Regions from separate parts of the Homo sapiens genome. Here region 2 is linked to region 1. The links are contacts of gene promoters, found by promoter capture Hi-C in blood cells and fetal thymus (Javierre and others, 2016). All regions are on one chromosome and are shown on one strand. The core of a region is centred on a gene start or on the middle of the fragment in contact, and the rest is flanking DNA. Distances in the headings are between cores, read along the strand shown.

Evidence for each region. The method cuts DNA at HindIII sites, captures the fragments that hold promoters and counts their contacts. A CHiCAGO score of 5 or more calls a contact.
Region 2: a contact is called between a fragment that was not itself captured here and the fragment with the promoter of ZNF792 in region 1, in 4 of 17 cell types (total B cells, total CD8 T cells, naive CD8 T cells and 1 more). The highest score is 8.3, in total B cells.

The regions. Positions count from the first base shown.
Region 1 is chr19:34,959,910-34,966,343 of GRCh38, reverse strand. ZNF792 (zinc finger protein 792) reads left to right here and starts at 2,115. Exons shown (of 4, transcript NM_175872.5): 1 at 2,115-2,714; 2 at 5,350-5,476; 3 at 5,987-6,109. The coding sequence starts at 2,682. LOC124904699 (a long non-coding RNA gene) reads right to left here and starts at 2,918. Exons shown (of 2, transcript XR_007067236.1): 1 at 2,671-2,918. RefSeq lists silencers at 2,354-2,613, 2,724-2,773. The HindIII fragment of the contact is 6,406 bases long and covers 1-2,979 here.
Region 2 is chr19:35,430,970-35,437,567 of GRCh38, reverse strand. LOC101927522 (a long non-coding RNA gene) reads left to right here and starts at 2,915. Exons shown (of 7, transcript NR_187751.1): 1 at 2,915-3,248; 2 at 3,730-3,979; 3 at 4,466-4,709. RefSeq lists enhancers at 1-61, 62-1,025, 3,475-4,674 and a silencer at 647-941. The HindIII fragment of the contact is 997 bases long and covers 3,532-4,528 here.

The DNA of each region.
Region 1 (6,434 bases), core at 866-3,365:
TGGGATTACAGGGGTGAACCACCATGCCCGGCCTAGAGGGAAAGGGCTGTTATCTTTGCTTCAAAGTTAAACTGTAAACTGAGTTTCTCCCAAAGTTAGTTAGGCCTATGCTCAGGAACGAACAAGGACAGCTTGGAGGTTAGAAGCAAGATGGAGTTGGTTAGGTCAGATCTCTCACTGTCATAATTTTCTCAGTTATAATTTTTACAAAGGTGGTTTCACCATATGACATGTAGTATCGGGGGAACCCACCCCCGATAATTCAATGTGGGTTCTTTTCTATTTTCCCTAAGTGTCGGCTGGTCTGAGAAATAAAGGGAAAGAGTACAAAAGAGATAAATTTTAAAGCTGGGTGTCTGGGGGAGACATCACATGTCAGCAGGTTCCGTGATGCCCCCGAGCCATAAAACCAGCAAGTTTTTATTGGCAATTTTCAAAGGGGAGGGAGTGTACGAATAGGGTGTGGGTCACAGAGATCACATGCTTTAAGGGCAACAAAAGATCACAAGGCAGAAGGTCAGGGCGAGATCACAAGGTCAGGGCAAAACTAGAATCACTCATGAGCTTCCATGTCCTGCTGTGCACGCATTGTCATTTATAAACATCTTAACAGGGTTCAAGAGCAGAGAACTGGTCTGACTAGAGTTCGCCAGGCTGGAATTTCCTAATCCTAGCAAGCCTGGGGGCGCTGCAGGAGACTAGGGTGTGTTTCATCCCTATCTACATGTGCATAAGGCAGACACTCCCAGGGCAGCCATTTTAGAGGCACTGCCCTGGGAATGCATTATTTTCCCAGGGCTGTTAATTATTAATATTCCTTACTGGGGAAAGAATTCAGCGATATTTCTCTTACCCGTTTTTGGTAATAGGAGAAATATGGCTCTGTCCTGCCCGTCCCACAGGCAGCCAGACTTTAAGGTTATCTCCCTTGTTCCCTGAAAATCGCTGTTATCCTGTTCTTAAGGTGCCCAGATTTCATATTGTTCAAACACACATGCCCTACAAACAATCTGTGCAGTTAACGCAATCATCACAGGGTCCTGAGATGACATACATCCTCAGCTTACGAAGATGACAGGATTAAGAGATTAAAGTAAAGTCAGGCATAGGAAATCACAAGAGTATTGATTGGGGAAGCGATACATGTCCATGAAATCTTCACAATTTATGTTCAGAGATTGCAGTAAAGACAGGCATAAGAAATTATAAAAGTATTAATTTGGGGAACTAATAAATGTCCATGAAATCTTCACAATTAATGTTCTTCTGTCACGGCTTCAGCAGGTCCCTCCGTTCGGGGTCCCTGACTTCCTGCAACAATGTAGTGTTATTTTTCCCATTTTATTTACTGGATTTCAATGAGAGTCCCTGCTGTAAAGTTGGAGCCAGCATTGGAGTCCCCAGAGGGCTTGTTAAAACAGAGAAGGAGGCCTGGCACCATGGCTCACTCCTGCAATTCCCAACACTTTGGGAGGCCGAGGTGAGAGGATCACTTGAGCTCAGGAGTTTGAGACCAGCCTAGGCATCACAGGGAGATCCAGTCTCTACAAAAAATTTTAAAATTAGCTGTGTATGATGGTGCACGCCTGTATCCCATCTACCTGGTAGGCTGAGGCAGGAGGATAGCTTGAGCCCGAGATGGAGGCTGCAGTGAGCTATGATCAGGCCACTGCACTCCAGCCTGGACAACAGAACGAGACCCATCCCCCCCGCCCCCCCCGCAAAAAGTAGAGAAGGCTGAATCCCATCCCCAGAATTTCTGAGTCCTTAGATTTAAGTTGTTGCCCCAGAACCTGCATTTTCAGCCAGTCCCCAGGTGATGCTGATGTTGCTGGTTTGAGAAGCCCTGAATCAGAGCGACATTTAATATTACAACGCAAAGACCCCGCCCATTGGGTACTATCCCCATTTTCCAGTGTGAATTTAGGTCCCTTAGGGGTGAAGCGGCTGGCCGATGCCCACACGCGCAGGAAGAGCACTGGGGCTCTCCTCCTGGACCTCGGAGGGTGGGCGGGGTTTAGCGCGGGCGGCTGCAGGCTCGGGAGCGGCCCCTTTAAGGGGAAGGCCCGAGGGCTGCAGGCGGCGGCGGTGGAGACCCGACGAGATCCGCTCTCCTTCCCGCCCTGGACCCTCAGCCTGACGAGAGGCTGGGCAGAAACTCGCGATCCCCAGGCCCTGCCTGTGCACCAGCGGCTGGCGCCAGGCCAATGACAGTACGGGAGAGGGCAACTCTCCCGGCCGCCACGGTGGGGGCCGGAACTTCCTGCACTGCAGCCTCGCAGGTCATTTCCCGGCGGGGAGGCTGAGTCCCCAGGAGCTGGGGACCCCGAGTTGGGGGCGGGGCGGCTGGGGCTACGCCCGTGAAGCTGCCCCGCCGGCTTTCCCGGACCGCGAGGGGGACAGTGAGGCCGGGACCCCCTCCGCGCCTTTGCACCAGCCGTGACCCCTTGCAACGGGGGTACCCAGCGGAGCTGCGCGCTCTCGGCGCCCCCGGAGCCTGCGCCCCGGGCCCCTTGCGCATTTTGCACGGGGGAGACTGAGGCTAGGAGTGCGACCCTCAGCCCGGGGTCACACCTCGTCTGGGGCACGGCCAGGTGGGTGGTAGCCTCAGCCTGCGAGACCCCCTACCCCCGCCCCGTGGTTTCCCGCACCGTGGGGCCCTGCTCTGACCACAGACTCCGATGGCAGCGGCGGCGCTGCGGGACCCCGCGCAGGTGAGTGCTTGGACGTTAGGCCCTTCGCTGTCGGCCCCCCACGCTTCTGTTCTCGGTGTTGAGACGCAAAAGATGGCTTTGTTCTAGGACTTTTCGCCTTTCCCATTTCCTTGCTTTTGAGTCAGGGGACCCTGGAAGGGAGTTGCTCCCAGCTAGGATCCTGAATCAGGGCAGGGTTTATATAAAGTGGCTTCCGTTGCTGAAATGTAATGGGATGGAGGGAGAAAGGGCTTTGTAGGCACAGGAACCAGCGTGCGCAAAAGCTTGGGGGTGGGGTGGGGCACGGTGTGGAGACTGAGTTGGGAGTGTTCAAGGAACCCCACCCAGGTCAGTGTTATTAATATTATGTCTGCTGGAACCAGAGAGCAGGTGGGCTGAAGACAGCTCAGAACGGCAGAGCTGGGCCTCTGTTCTGAGGGTGTTGGGAGCCATGGAAGGTTTAGGGCAGAGGAGGAAGATGCTGTGACTCAGGTCTTAACAGGCTCCCTGTGGATGCACAGTGGAGAACTGAATATGGAGTGAGCCGCAAGCAGGGATGCCAAGGAGTAGCCTAATGGAATAGCCCAGGCCAGTGCTGCGGCTGGCCGGACCAGAGTGAGGACTGGAGGTAGAGGAAGTGATTGGGAACTTGATGTCTTTTAAGTCAAGCTGACCAAATTTTCCGATGTGGAGGGTGAGAAAGAGGAGGGAAGAATCCATGGTTTTTGGTTTGATGAATCCAGCTTTATGAACTGAGAAGTTGGTTTTAGGAGGAATTTTCCATGGAAGCAGTAGAAGTTAGGTTTTGGCCAAGTTGAGCCTGTGATGTCCCAGAGACCCCCAAATGGAGTTGAAGAGTGGGCCGCTGAACACACAGTTCGGGTGTTCTGAGGGAGTTGTTAAGGTAATGAGAGACTGGATATTCATTCGAACAATGGCCAGATCATGTATACAAATAGAACTCTGCCCCAGAACCTGCCCAGGAAACCAACCCCCTTATCTACAATAAACAACCCATACAGCAGGAAGCCAGCCTGCTGTCTGTCAGACCCACAGGAAGCCAGATTGCTATCTGGACTGACAATCCAGGAAGTAAAAACAATAACTTCTGTAATGAGCAGTCCCAAATGGCCAGGGTTTGATTAATAACAGACAGCTTTCCTCATTTTTGCTCCTGCTTCTGATTTAAGAACAACCAGAGAAAGGCAGATACGCACCCTAACCAATCACATAGGATGCCCACTTCTAGTTCACCCACCTACGAACAGGAGCCTCCAACCAGGGCACGCCTGAAGCCTTCCTTTTCTTTTGCTATAAAACTCTCCCACTCCCGGCTTGCATTGAGTCTCTCTTGCTATAGTGAGCTTTGAGTAAGTAGCCTTGGCTTTTCTCATTTCATTGGTCTTTGTTTATTTCAACAGTTAGAAACATCCAAAATGTGACATCTGGTGTGTGGACGGGAGTGTAGCTGTGTGTGAGATTTAGGAGGTGAAACTTCAGGTCATGGTGACAATGATGTTAAAAAAAAGAGGAAGGTGGGGCTGGAAAACTGAGAGCAGGGTTCTTGCTTGGGGACTGTGGCTTGTTTGGCATCATAAAGACAGGTGAGGAACAGTAGTGGTCATGGTGGTGATGGAGGGGCTATGTGGGTGTATCAGAGGGTCTGGCAGGTGGCCAGATCATCCCAAAGAGTGTAGACATGAATGAGATGGATGCTGAGGCTTAGCAGTAGAGGAGGTAATATTGCAGTGAGGCCTGGGCTGGTGCTTACACACTCACCTATGTTCTCACCAGGCTTCTGTGGTGACCCTTGATGGGGTTTGTCCTCAGGCTGGGGAATTAGCTTGGGGCAAGAGGAGTCAGTTGGCAGAGTTGCTGGGCTTAGGTGGGTGGGGGTAGGATGGCCAGAGGGGTTGGCTTTTTTTTTCTTTTTTAAATGAGTGTGAGTGATGACAGGGTCAGAATGTGCAACAAAGAAGGCCAAGTGTATGTGACATCCATGTGTGCCGTGGGTGGCTTAGGTTGAAGCCAGGCCAGGGGAGCTAGGGGGCTCCAAGGCAAGGGTGGAGCGCTCCCTCTCCCCCTTACCTGGGTGTTGCCCTTGGCAGTGGAGGCCATCAAAGGTCTGGGGCAGGCTGGGATGGTGCTTATGTTTGCCAGGCACTCTCTGGATGCCATGTGCAGAGTGACTCGTGGGAGCCCATGGAGATGGCTAGGATAGGGGCCAGGATGGGGAGAAGGTAGCAGTGGCAATGGGAGGCCGTGGTGAAGGTCTGGAGCTGTGAGGGTGGTGCAGTCCAAAGAGTGAAACGCACGTGGGAGGGAGTATGAGCTGTTCACCCCAGGGCTCTGGACTGGGGTTTAAAGGAGAAGCCCACATTTGTATCTGAGAAGCATGACATTGGTGACACTAGGGGAAGAGGCTGGCAGAAGAGCGAGCTGGGCCCTGGACTTCAGGCCCAGAGCTTAGAGGGTGCCTCTCTGCACCCTGCCTGTTGCTGCTGCGGGCTGACACAGTGGTCACATGAGGCGCCCACAGAACCAGGGCCTGCTACCTCCTGGAGCTGTGGAGCTGGGGAGGAGAGTGAGCAGGGGATGGATAGGGAGTCCCAAGGACAGAGACTGATCATGGAACGAACTGTCCCCATCATGGCAGGGCTGCGTGACCTTTGAGGACGTGACCATTTACTTCTCCCAGGAGGAGTGGGTGCTCCTCGATGAGGCTCAGAGACTCCTGTACTGCGATGTGATGCTGGAAAACTTTGCACTTATAGCCTCGCTGGGTAAGGCTGTCACCCCTACCCCGGTGTCCCGAGCTCCTCTCTGCCTGTCCCCTTTGCCCAAGAAACAGCTCTTTCCTTCCCACAGCCAGACCGCTGGCACTGCTTCCATCCCCACTTTCCTGGTATGTGTGTTGTGGCTTCTGGGGCTGAGCTATGTGCATTGTTCCCTCCTCTCCCTGAGCTGCCCCCACACCTGCTGCCTGAAGCCTTGCAGGGAAGCTCCAGGCATGAGGGGTCTTGCGGTTAGCTGTGTGACTACCTCTGACTCGGCCATTCCCTCCTGGGTGATTATCCAGATCTGACAGTTCTGTGGTTTAGATTCTGTGCCTTTCCTCTTGCTAATATTTCCTAAGCCTGACTGTGCCAGGAATTCCAATCACTGATGTGGTTACTGCTTGCCGTGACCACCCAATGTCCCTGTGTCATACGGAGCTTCCTGTCTTGTAGTCTATCATGGGGTAGTTCAACTGGGCAGGTGCTGGCCACTGACCCACTCTGTCTTTCCCTTAGGACTTATATCTTTCAGGTCCCACATCGTTTCCCAGTTGGAGATGGGGAAAGAGCCCTGGGTGCCTGACAGTGTGGATATGACATCAGCCATGGCCAGAGGGGCTTATGGCAGGCCTGGCTCTGGTAAGCAGCGATGGGAGCTAGGGGAGGATGTGACTTCACCACTGTGTTTACATCATACCAGCATCTTCTCTCCTATTCATCATCATTTGATACCAATGCCAGTAGCCAGACCACGTCTCTGCTTTTCCTTCCCCGTGCTTGACACATTATCTACTTGTCATTATTATTCTGAGTTGGGCCCCTTGGCTGTGCCCCACTTTTCTGGCCTCCGTTTCTCTCTTTCAGCTTCCTCTGCGGCACTTTCCAACACTGGCCTACACTTAATGTGTTGTGAGATACGTGCTTTTCCTTGATGTGCTTGAACACCAGCTACTCAGTTGCAGGT
Region 2 (6,598 bases), core at 2,781-5,280, 470 kb before region 1:
TGGTTACCAGGCTTCTTGCCAGTGGTCTTCACTCTTTCCCTGAAACCATGAAGGAGTAACCTTCAACCCCAGACTCCCAAGACCCAGGCAACTCCCAGCCTTCCACATGTCCTCGTTCCTGCCATAGCCCCAGATCCCAGATGCTGCAATCTGTCGTCAGTCCCCACTCCCTGTCTCTAAACATTCTGGATACACAGGAAGTAGAGGGAAGATTCTATTTACTGTTTCTGTCTACCGTTTACCAAGTTGTTTGCTTTCATGGTTTCCATGAATGCTTATAAGACTCTGGATTTGATTGTGAAACAGAATGAAGAGCTTGGGAGGAGGAATGTTTATTCCAGGAATCCTGGAGAGGTTGCCTGACCTTTTCCTCCTTCCCCGAGCCCCCTTCTCCATCTGCTGTCCGTGCAGAGGTGACCACTGGACTAGACACAGGACTAAAAAGCCCTCCCCCTGCCGCTTCCGGGCCAGACCCCTGGGTAGCTAGCGCGGGTTCACACCACCCTTGATAAGGGCCAGAAGGCAGCTGGTCGTTTCCTTGGGCTGATTTTCAGTGCTGACCCTGAGCCAGGGAGGAGAGGCAGCAGAGTGTCTGGAGGCGGAAACTTGCAGTCAGGTGCTGGCTGATCCTGCAAAAGACACACCAGATGGGGGGCAAAACTAGTTGCTCTGTGTTCCTTTCCCCAGCCCAACCTTGTCTCTGTTTTCCTCCATTACCTGCTTCTGCCACATACATGACTCATCTTCCCCTAAGAGTTGTGGTATCGCTGGAGTCACCAGGGTTTCTGTCTGCTTTGCAGAATCTTAGGAAACTTAAATTAGACGGCAGATTTTCAGGAAGTGCAGGGAGGATATCAGAAACTCCCGGGTGTCACACCCGGGGAGTTGGCAGCACGTTTCAAAATGCTTGGAAATTTTCCAAGAGAGAGAGAAAAGCCCTGGTTTTCTTAATGCAAACCAGAAAGTAAAGTTTCTGTTTATCAGAAGTGGGAAGTGGTTAAAAATAGATTGAGAAACAGTGATGCAGTGGACATAACACTCTAAGACCCGCTCTTGGTAAAGTTTACGTGAACTGAGATCCTCTTCACGTTGAGCCATCTTCCCTGAGCCTTTTCCAATGCCAGAAGAATTCAGATTCCATAGGAAGCAGGGAAGACTGCTCTCAGGAGAAGGTGGGAGGGGAGAATGTAGTCTTAATTTTGGGAATGTCTTGGGGATTCCTTCCCCCACTTTTTTTTTTCCTTGAGCCCTTGCTACTTGATGATATGAAGCCACAGTGAATTAGCACCCAGAAGCCTTCCCTTCTGTCTCTAGAAGTCTTTGCCATTTATGAAGATAAAACCCTTATATCTCATTTGAGGACTGTCAAATATGCCCAAATAACAGAGACTTAAACACATAGAGGTTTATTTTTCTCATGGGACATGAAGGAATTAGGGAACCCATGTCCACGGCTGCTGCTCAGGATCACTCATCCATCCACAGCCTGGGGTCCTCTGGCTATCTGTTTCACTATCCCCAGATCTTGGCTTTCGCTTCATGGTCCTAAGAAGCATCTACATTCTGAGCAGAAAAACAGGGGGCAGGGAGGACAGAGAGCAAAAGACGTATGAGAGATGGATCTATCCCTTTTTCAAGCAGGAAAATGACAACTTTTCTAGATGCAGTGGCTCACGCCTGTAATTCCAGCACTTTGAGAGGCCGAGGCAAGAGGATCGCTTGAGGCCAAGGGTTCGAGACCTGCCTGGGCAACAGAGTGAGACCCCCTATCTCTACAAAAAATAAAAAAAAAATCTAGTTGGGTGTGGTGGTGCACTCTTATAGTTCCAGCTACTTGGGAGGCTGAGGTGGGAGGATCGCTTGAGCCTGGGAATGGGAGGCTGCAGTGAGCTGTGATGGCACCACTGTACTCCAGCCTGGGCCACACAGCGAGACCTTGTCTCTAAAGAAGGAAAAAGGAAAATGATAGCTTTTCTGGAAGCCCTACCCAGCAGATGTGTACTTATTTCCAACTGGCTGACATTGTATCTCATGGCAATTCCTAGCCGCAAGAGAGTTTGGGCAAATGAGTATTAATTGGGCACTTCCCGAACCTAACAAAATTGGGACCCTGTTGGCAAGGAAAAAGGGGAGAGTTCCAAAATTATACAGATCTTGAATAGCAAATATGGGGAGCAAAACCAATTATAAGCCTAAAATATCTATGGTAGCCATAGGAAGATGTGGGATTTTAGAGGGGGCTTTTATCAATTGTGTTATTAACAGGTAACATACATACAAAAAGGTGAGCTCAACTTAGGGATACAGCTGGATGCATGTTAACATATCTGTACATTTGTGTATGACCACCCAGGTTGAGATGCAGGCCATTTTCAGCACCCTAGAGGCCCTTTTATTCCCTCTCAGTCAGCAAACCTTCCACTCCTAAGATAACCACTTTTCCAGCTTCTACCTCTTTTTTTTATCTATTTATTTTATTTATTTATTTATTTATTTATTTTTGTGAGACAGGGTCTCTGTAGAGTGAGTGCTCATATGAGCACTCCCAGGCTGGAGTGCAGTGGTGCGATCTTGGCTCACTACAACCTCTGCCTCCCGGTTTCAAGCAATTCTTCTGCTTCTGCCTCCCGAGTAGCTGGGGTTACAGGCGCATGCCAACACACCCAGCTAATTTTTATATTTTTAGTAGAGATGGGGTTTCGCCATGTTGGACAGGCTGATCTCAAACTCCTGACCTCAAGTGATCTGCCCACCTCCGCCTCCCAAAGTGCTGGGATTACAGGCATGAGCCACCATGCTCGGCCTTGTTTCTATTTTCTTTGACACAAGCACTGTTTATCTTCCAGTGTAAGAACGCAATCAACCATAGCACTGTGGGATAGCAGCCAGGAGGCTGGCTGTATCCTGCTGCAGCAGCCACCACACATGGAGGGCGGAGGGACAGCCACCCTGTTGTGTAGCTCGGAGCAGCTGTGTCCTTCAGTGCAGGTCCAGCCAAGAGCCGTGGGCCACAGATGACGCTGGTGGGGAAGCAGAGGGCAGACTAGGCAGAGGCAAGGCTTTCCTGTGCCCTGAGCTGTCAGAGATGGGCCAGGGCCTTCAGCTTCCTCGATAGGGCAGAAGTGACCACGCTGGCTCCATTCAGCAAAGGACGTGGACGGAGCTGCCGGGCTTGTCTGAGAGGAGGAGAAATGTGGAATTGAGTGAGGCTCTCTAAGAAGGTTCTGCTGGAGTTGAGAAAAATTAGGGTGAGGCACCTCCCCGATTTTATGTCCTTTTTCCTGGGTCCAGCCTCCTGAACAGCTACCATTCGCTTCTGTGAGACACCTGTCGGTGCCTCCTTTTCCAGCCCTTAATGGAACGGTGAGTGAGGTTCCCTGACTGGGGTGGAGTCTGCTTGTGAGTTTCCCCATCCCATGTCTCTCTGACTCCTGCTCCAACTCCTTACTTCGCCAGTTCCTCTCCCAGCCACCTCAGACTTCCCATACCACCCTCCCTGGACAGGAAGCGTTTTTACAGGAGTTTGAAGCTTCAGGAGTGCCCTCCGGCCACATGAAGACAAGGCGCTAACAAACATGGCGTTCTGCAAATTGCACCATCGCCAACTCCTGTCTTACTCTCACAGAGGTCTCTTGGGCTCTTCTGAGAAGGGTGAATGAACTTGGTTGGAGGGAAGAGAGGGGTTTGGTGGCTCTTAGTAAAATTGCTTCACGCAGTGACCTTTGGCAGTTTAGGATAATAACCTGTGCAGAGAGAGGGTCTCCTGTCCTGAAGTCACAGCCCGGATCTCCAGGCTGGCTCTGCTGCCTCTGAATGATTTGTGGGTCACACACGCCAACAGCATCGCCAAGGGCTGACATCAGCCTGCTTGAGCCACGGAAACTGAATGGGCAAGGATGAGTTCCCCAGCACAGAGGGAGGCATCCTCTGTCAAGACCATCTGCGCATGTGCTGTGCAGTCTCCAGTCTGCACTGTGAGGTTAGTACTTCTTCCTCTCTCTAGAAAGTGTAATGGGGGCCAGGCATGATGGCCCACACCTGTAATCCTAGCACTTTGCGAGGCTGAGGTGGGCGGATTGCCTGAGCTCAGGAGTTTGAGACCACCCTGGGCAACATGGTGAAACCCTGTCTGTACTAAAATACAAAAAAATTTAGCTGGGTGTGGTGGCGGGCATGTGTAATCCCAGTGACTCAGGAGGCTGAGGCAGGAGAATCGCTTGAACCCGGGAGGCAAAGGTTGCAGTGAGCCGAGATCATGCCACTGTACTCTAGCCTGGGCAAAAGAGCGAGACTGGCTCAAAAGAAAGCATAACAGAATACTCATAACTGACAGTGACGTTGTAACAGCTTACCTTATATCCTCTCATTTCTTTGTTTACTTAAACTTCCAAAGCCTAGTTTTTTCAGTATTACCAGGAACCATGGACTTACATTTCTTGCCTCTTGGTGTGTTGCCACATCCCAGCAGTGTGTCTCAACGGCTTTTGAGAACTGCTTCGAGAGGGGACCAGATGCGCAGAGACAAGCTTCCAGCCTGGCTAGGGACGGACCCTCTGGGGATGCTCCTCTCTGGCCGGGCAGCAGTAGAAGCACCTGCCTCCATCCACATCCAGACGCCATTCCCTTTTCTTCACCGCTGCTTCCCATCAGATGGTCCCCAGGAGTGGCAACCTCCCACTTGGTCTCGCAGGAGTCCCAGTGCTTCTCAGGTGTGTGTGCCACATCCCTCTTCTCTGAACACACAGTGGTCAGGGTGCCTGCACAGGGAAGGGCACCACAGTCCACCCTGGGAAAGGTCTTCAGTCTTCGGGAAAGAGCCTGTAAGCACCTTGACTGCTCTTCTTCTCTAGGGCAGAGAGCTTTCTTATCCACAGGGGTCCTTAGTCAGAGAGAGGGAGCGCACTCGGTGAGCTCTTTCAGAGGCAGCAGAGCCCTCTGCCTCTCCCCAAATCCCTGCTCCTACAAGTCGAATTAATCTCTCCTAGAAATCCAAGTCCTAACTTCTTCCAGGCGTCTTTTTACATCCACTGTTTGCATAGCCCACCCTTTCTTCTTTGGAGGATCCCCTCAGGTAACTTCCATCTGCTCCTCAGTGTGTCTTACCCCTTCCTTCTGTTCTTTCTTCACCTCCCTCCCTCTCCACCTCCACACTGGACTATATCAAATTCCTGTTCATTTTTTAGCATGGCCCAGTCAAAGCAGGTTAATCTCTCAGTCAGCAGAGGACATTTCACAAAAATTGGGGCCGCTAAATCACAAAAATATTCTCTAAGTCCAGGGCCAGCCCAGAAAAAATGCCCCAAGTCCAGGCAGCCCCCCAGAGTCTGCCGCCGTCTGGAAAATCCGGCTCAGCTCTTGCTCCTGCACATCCTCTCCTTTCCAGTGCTCTGTGTCTGGTCCCTGTCCCACCTCCTCTCCTTTCCCCAGTGTCTTCTGTCTGAATTCTGTGGGCCCAGGACAGCCCCAGCCTTCTCAAAGTCACCTGCATGTCTCTTGGATTAGGCAGCTGAGTGCAAGGTAACAACCAGATCATGCATTTTCATCTCTCCATGGATGGTTGGGGATAGAGCATCACAAGACAGGCATTGTGGCTGGGTGTGTTGGCTCATGCCTATGATCCCAGCACTTGGTGGGAGACCAAGGCAGGTGGATTGCTTGAGCTCAGGAGTTCAAGACCAGCCTGGGTAACATGGTGACACCTGATCTCTACAAAAAAATACAAAAATTAGCCAGATGTGGTAGTGCATGCCTTTAGTTCCAGCTACTCAGGAAGCTGAGGTCAGAGGATCACTTGAGCCCAGGAGATCAAAGCTGCAGTGAGCCTAGATTGTGCCACTGCACTCTAGCCTGTGGGACAGAGTGAGACCCTGATTTTTTTTTTTTTTAAAGGCAGACATGGTTCTTGCCTTCATGAAATTGACATTGTAGTTGTGGGGAGGGGTGAGACACTAGTACAGTCTCTACAGTAATATAGGAGGTAATGTGGGGCACGCTTTCGGAAGGAAATAGAATTGGATGATAGAATAGGGTAATCTGTGCTGGGGGCAGCAGGGAAATGTCCTTGAAGGGGTGACATTTGAGCCGAGGCCTGTAGGTGCTCTCCATGGAAGAGCTGGGAGAGGAACACTCGGGGCAGATGGGACATTTTTTGCAAAGGCCCTGAGGCGATACGAAGCTTGGTGTGATGGAGAAACCGAAAGGAGGCCAGTGTGGCTGGGGGGGTGGGGTGGGAATGAGCATGAGGGAAGTGATGGGAAACCAGGTCAGAGACGTGACAGCTGGGGGTGGAGGGGGTGGAGGGAAAACACATGGTGCAGGGCCCTGTTGTCCAAGGTGAGGATTTGGATTTTATTCCCAAAGTCATAGGAAACTCTTGAAGGGTATAAGGCAGAGGAGTAAGTGATCTGATGTATGGGTTTCATTTCTTTTATCATGTTTTATTTTCTTTCTTTATTTTTGTATGATGTGTGGGTTTTAAGGATTCCTCTGGCTTCCTGTTTTGTGCAAGTGTCTTGCCCCACTGTCTGTCAAAACTTTCTTCTTTCCCTGCCATTAGGGAAGCCCTCATGATTCAGCAGCTGCTCATTTCTCTTTCTCT